2 separate regions of the Homo sapiens genome follow, and region 2 is linked to region 1. Evidence: promoter capture Hi-C in 16 types of primary human blood cells and fetal thymus (Javierre and others, 2016). All regions are on one chromosome and are shown on one strand. The core of a region is centred on a gene start or on the middle of the fragment in contact, and the rest is flanking DNA. Distances in the headings are between cores, read along the strand shown.

Region 1 (3,032 bases), core at 281-2,780:
ATACGTGGGTAAATCTTTGTTCGGGGATCTCAGCTCTGAAGGCTATAAGACCCCTGATTTCCCACTTCACACCTCTGTGTGTGTCTTTAATTCCTCTAGCACCGCTGGGTTAGGGTCTCCCCAACCGAGCTGGTCTTGGCATACCCTTTTCATTGGTTTTTTGCCTGCTTTATATCCTGGCCACTCCAGCAGCTGATTAGATGGTGCCCACTTGGATTAAGAGTGGACCTGTCTTTCCCAGCCCACTGACTCAAATGTTAATCTCCTTTGGCAACACCCTCACAGACACACCCAGGATCAATACTTTGCATCCTTCAATCCAATCAAGTTGACACTCAGTCTTAACCATCACATACAGCTAAGCAGGAGGCTAAGGCAGGAGGACTGCTCGAGCCAGGAGCTGAAGGCTGCATTGAGCTATGATGGTGCCACTGCACTCCAGCCTGGGCAACAGAGCAAGACCCTGTTCCTGGGGGGGGAAAAAAAAAAAGAAGAGGCTCAGAGGATCTTGGTTGGAGTTTGGTCAAGGAGGGGATGTTTCTCACTGAGTAATTTTAAAACAGTTATTTTGTTTTAGCATTCTGAAATCTGAAATGGGAATATTAGTATCTCCTGTATCTCCTGGGAGCATCAAGTGCAGTACTGAGCAATAGAAATATAATGCAAGCGTCACATGTCATTTACAGTATCTTCATAACCACATTAAATAAAATAATTAAAAATAAACAAGAAACCTTCCTCCCTTCCTTCCTTCTTTCCTCTTGCTCTGTCACCCAGGCTGGATCTCGGCTCACTGCAGTCTCTGCCTCCCGGGTTCAAGTGATTCTCTTCTCTCAGCCTCCTGAGTAGCTGGGATTACAGGAGCCCACCATCACACCCAGCTAATTTTTGTATTTTCAGTAGAGACAGGGTTTTGCCATGTTGGCCAGACTGGTCTCGAACTCTTGACCTTAGGTGATTTGCCCGCCTCGGTTTCCCAAAGTGCTAGAATTACAGGCGTGAGCCACTGCGCCCGGCCTCAAAATATTTTCATTTCAACATGTTATCAACATTTAAAAATTATTGGGAGGCCGAGGAGGGGGGAATCACGAGGTCAGGAGATTGAGACCATCCTGGCTAACACGGTGAAACCCCGTCTCTACTAAAAATACAAAAAATTAGCCGGGCGTGGTGGCGGGCACCTGTAGTCCCAGCTACTTGGGAGGCTGAGGCAGGAGAATGGCGTGAACCCGGGAGTCGGAGCTTGCAGTGAGCCGAGATCGTGCCACTGCACTCCAGTTTGGGCGACAGGGCCAGACTCCATCTCAAAAAAAAAAAAATTATTGGGATATTCTTCATCCTTGTTCCAGTTCCAAGTGTGTGAAATCCGGTGTGTATTTTGCACCTGCAGCACTGGCCACATCAGAGCATTGATTGCACATCACCGGTCTAGACAAGCGGCAGGACTTGCAGTCTTCAGCGAGGGGCGGTTCTTAGCCAGATGGAGGCGGGGCTTCCCGGAGAGTTCGTTTTGGGCCCCATCGGCTTCCGTAGGAAGGCGCCGGCCGTGGAGGCGCCACGTCCCTTGCGGCGGCGGGAGAGAAATCGCTTGGACTTCGGGGCGGCCTCGGACGGCCATGGCCTTTACCCTGTACTCACTGCTGCAGGCAGCCCTGCTCTGCGTCAACGCCATCGCAGTGCTGCACGAGGAGCGATTCCTCAAGAACAGTGAGTGGGACCGCGGGGCGCGGGCTGGGGCGGCGGCGGAGTCCCCGGGGGCGCGTAACCTAATGGGGCCGCGTGAGGGGACACCAAGGGCCGGGACAGAAGAACAGCGGAAGGCTCGGCTTGGAGTGGAAGCCGAGCCTTTCCTCTCATCAGGTTTGGGCTCAACAGCCGGGAGAATATTCAACAGACACCCGCTGTGCAGGGCCCAGGGGGTTGGGGTGGAGGGATATAGAAGTCAGTCAGGGACGCCTCTGCTTGCGATTACTTCAGGTCAGTAATTTAATTCAGTTTTCTGTGACTACTTTTTTTTTTGAGGGGGAGTCTCGCTCTTTTGCCCAGGCTGAAGTGCAGTGTCGCGGTCCTGTGACTACTTTTAATAGTCGAAAACCCGGGGTCTGAGTTTCGGGCTAAGAGTTGGGGGTGTGGGGCCGGGCGCGGTGGCTCCCGCCTGTAATCCCAGCACTTTGGCAGGCCGAGGCCGGCGGATCATGATGTCAGGAGTTTGGGACCAGCCTGGCCAACATGGTAAAACCCCGTCTCTACTAAAAATACAAAGATTAGCCGGACGTGGTGGTGGAAATACAAAAATTAGCCGGGCGGGAGGCTGAGGCAGGAGAATCACTTAAACCTGGGAGGCAGAGGTTGCAGTGAGCCGAGATTGCGCCATTGCACTCCAGCCTGGGCAATAGAGTGAGACTCCGTCTAACAAAACAAAACAAACAAAACAAAACGAGTTGGGTGTGGAGGGGAAGGAGGCGTGACCCATTTTGGAGCATCAGTAGTTCACTAACTGATGGAAGGCAATAAGTGTTCCTGGGCTTTAGGAATTACAGGAAGGGAACGTGTTGGAGTTATCAGGACATTCAGACACTCATGTTCCAAGAAAAGTTTATTCAGATAGCTTATTGGGTGCATAGAGTGTGCCAAAAACTCTGCTAGAATTTAGAAATTCAAAAATGAAAACACAAGTTATACCTTCCAGGACCTCACGTTGTGTACCAAGTATGCCCGTTTGAATCACTGAAACGTAAACCCAGGAGCAAGATTGATTCATTTCATTTACTTCAGAAGATATTTATTGAGTGCAAAGTATGTGCCAGGCCCATTTATAGTAACTGAAGTTACAGCAGCTACTCTGCCCTTCTGATGGAAGTTAATCTAAATAAAAACTAAACAAATGACAATAACAAGTATAGAGAGTATTATGTAAGAGAAGTACGGGCAGATACTAACTTGTGTATCTGCGAAAGCTTCTTGGAGGAAGCGTGTCTAACCTGAAATCTGATACATGAGTAAACATTAACTCGGTGAAGGTGAAGGGTTGG
Region 2 (3,032 bases), core at 386-2,885, 3.2 Mb before region 1:
CTAAGGTTAATGTATTATTGAAGAAAGTTTTTCATTTTTTATAAATTTAGTGTAGCATAAGTGTATAGTACTTATAAAGCCTACAGTAGTATACAGTGATGTCCTAGGCCCTCACAGTCACTGTCTCACCCACAGCAACTTCCAGTTCTGCAAGCTCCATCAATGGTAAGTGGCCTATACAGGTGTTCCATTTTTAATCTTTTACTGTATCTTTTCTATGTTTAGATACACAAATACTCACCATTGTGTTACACTTGCCTAAGGTATTCAGTACAGTCACATGCTATACGGGTTTGTTGCCTAGGAGCAATAGGCTATATAGCCTAGATATGTAGTAGGCTATACCATCTAGGTTTGTGTACATTTACGTACATTCTATGATGTGATGTTTGCACAACGACAAAATCATGTAACGCTTTTGTCAGAACACATCTCCATCATTAAGGAACGCATGACTGTATCTCTATTTAGCTGTAGAACCATGGATGCCACATAACCTTCAAATCTCACCATTGGCCTATGTGTCTCAGAAAAACATAAGTAAATAATTCTAATGAATATTCAGTTCATTGTTCAATGTACCTTACATTTTTAGTATCCTCCACAATATTCAAAATGACATTGGACTATTTAAAAAATCGTTATGCAAAAATCTAAAATTACCTAAGATGCAGTCACTTAACCAAGCAAAGATATCATTCAGAGTGGAATAATCAAAATGCATTTTGTATATACAAAGTCAGTGGAATCTGTTTTACTTACCACAGTTTCTTAATGATAAGGTTTTCTTAATATTGCCAATCTTTTCATTAACATGAGAGCATAATTGTTCCAGATCTGACGAGGCCATCCTTTAAGCCTCTGAAGAAAAAAACATAAACATATTCGTAACAAGAAAAGCCACACAAATTTCTGTTCACTTTCGAAATCCAAGAATGGTCAATGTCAAGTAAATCACATGTCTTTGAAGGTTAAGCACAAAAATTCAAGAGCAATTTCTTTCATTTCTACAACATTCAGTTTCTAACCACGGTACCGTACTGACTTGTCTTAGAGCCTTAGGCCATCGATGGATCCCAAACCAGGGGAAAGAGGATAAGCCTGGGTCCTTTCCTTAAGGATTCAGGAGGACAAACGCACTATTTGTATATAAAGACAACATTGGTATTTTCTTTAAACACGCAAAATAAGGACACATTTTTTAAAAATGTGTTACACTGTCAAAGAAATGGGCCCAGGTAATCATTTTTCCTGTGCTGTGAGGGGTTGGGGCTTTACAGTTTGGGATCGGTAAGGAGGCCGAGAAATGGGAAAGAACCAGTTTCCCACCCACTCCGCCGGTGAGAGAGAAGGGGAGGGTCTAAAGCATCCAACCCAGCCTCCAGCCCCGTCCTCCCCCAAGCCCGGCGCGGTCCGCGGCCCCCAGCTGCCAAGCAGCTACCTCGGGCGCTTCCAAAGGCAGGGTCCCCAACACACAGACTCCAACCTCAAGTCCGTCCGGGAGCAAAAGGCTACTCGCCGCTGGGTCTCCAGCTGCGGATACCGCAGTCTCCGTTGGAAGCCCAGGATGGTGAGACGGGACTCTGTAAGCAAAATTCAAACCGCCCGCCGCGCCCTAGCGCAGCGCAGGCGCACATCCATGCTTCCGAAGCGCAGGCTCAGCCGCTGTTCCCGGTTTGCGTCATCCGGGGCCACAGCTGGGCGGGAAGGAGGGGTGGCCGAGCCGGGGAAAGGCGGGGCGACGGCGAAGGCGGGGCTTCCGGACGAAAGGGTAACCCGGAGGTGCTCTTTCCGCGCTAACCAGTCTGGGGAGATTTCAGCAGGTCATGCAGTCTTGACCGCAGCCCAGCCAGGGACCTGGCGTCACCAAGTCCTGGTCTTTGACATTTGCTGCACCTTAGAGTCACCAGGGGCAGCTATTACAAGTCTCAGTGCCTAGAGTACACCCCAAGTCGGTGAAATCAGACACTGGGGAAATGAGGCACAAGCCTTAGTATTTATAAAAACACCCCAGAAAATTCCAAAGAGCAGCTAAGTTTGTGTGGAAGAAACAGTGACCCTGTCTTCTGGGTCTTAGACAGCCTCTGTAAGTGTTCCCGGGCCAAACCAGGGGTTGGGCTGCTTATTCTCATGATGAACTGGGAAAGAAGAGTTTATTTCGGTAACCGGGTACAGGGAAAAGGCCTGGAAAATATCGCCAAATCGATTCAAAATTACAAAGTTTTCCAGAGCTTATATACCTTCTAAACTATCTGTCTACATGTAAGTGTGCATGTGTGTAAAGACGTAAATGATTAACTGTTTCTAATCTATAACTAAGATCAGTCCTAAGGAAGGTCTTTATTTAAGTAAATTTACTTAATCTAGATGGCTGCAGGTGCCAGAGGTGATTACCCTTATCTTGTCTCCTGCTAAATCATGAAGGTTTGGGCAGTTCCTTCAGACCCCCGATAAACTTGTTTGTGGAGGTCTGGGGGAGTTTCTTCAGACCCCCAATAAAAACTTGTTTAATCTTGAACAGGTCCTGTTAAGAATTCCTTCTTTATTTTCTCATGCTTCAAGGACCAGGAAAGGCCTGGGCAAAACTCTTGGTGGGCTTTTGTTACATACCAGCCTTTCTATAAAGACACTGGCTCTTTCAGCTTTTAATATTTAACTTAACTAGTGCTGAAACAGTGGTTACGGAGGCCTGTCTGTTCAGCTGTTAGTGAGACCTGGCCTGCCACTTAAGAGCAAATATAAATTTAAAATAAGAAAAACAAAAGTTTAATTCTCCCTGTTGAAAAGGAGGGAAAAGCACCCAAGGCTGGAGTGGTGGCACCGCCAGGTTCTGTCCATCCCTTGGCTCCACTGCGCTATTATTATGCACTTGGACCTTCAGGCTGCCAGCCCCTGTCCTCAGGTCTTTCTCCCAGGCAGCAGAAACGAGCAAGAGGCATGTGTAATAGGCTTAACTGCCAACAGAACCAGCACTTTGAGAGCGTTGTGCTGGAAGCCACACCCAGTGGCTTCCATCTGCTTCTCACTGGTCA

The links. Contacts are between HindIII fragments. The CHiCAGO score rates a contact against its expected background, and 5 or more counts as called.
Region 2: a contact is called between the fragment with the promoter of SKA1 here and the fragment with the promoter of IER3IP1 in region 1, in 3 of 17 cell types (naive CD8 T cells, total CD8 T cells and non-activated CD4 T cells). The highest score is 8.7, in naive CD8 T cells.

What each region holds. Positions count from the first base shown.
Region 1 is chr18:47,174,862-47,177,893 of GRCh38, reverse strand. It overlaps IER3IP1 (immediate early response 3 interacting protein 1), which reads left to right and starts at 1,530. Exons shown (of 3, transcript NM_016097.5): 1 at 1,530-1,707. The coding sequence starts at 1,617. RefSeq lists enhancers at 1,362-1,491, 1,502-1,621. The HindIII fragment of the contact is 4,620 bases long and covers 1-2,959 here.
Region 2 is chr18:50,373,649-50,376,680 of GRCh38, reverse strand. It overlaps SKA1 (spindle and kinetochore associated complex subunit 1), which reads right to left and starts at 1,635. Exons shown (of 7, transcript NM_145060.4): 1 at 1,487-1,635; 2 at 763-861. The coding sequence starts at 850. It overlaps LOC105372114 (a long non-coding RNA gene), which reads left to right and starts at 1,803. Exons shown (of 3, transcript XR_935466.3): 1 at 1,803-2,086. RefSeq lists a silencer at 2,848-3,032. The HindIII fragment of the contact is 8,258 bases long and covers 1-3,032 here.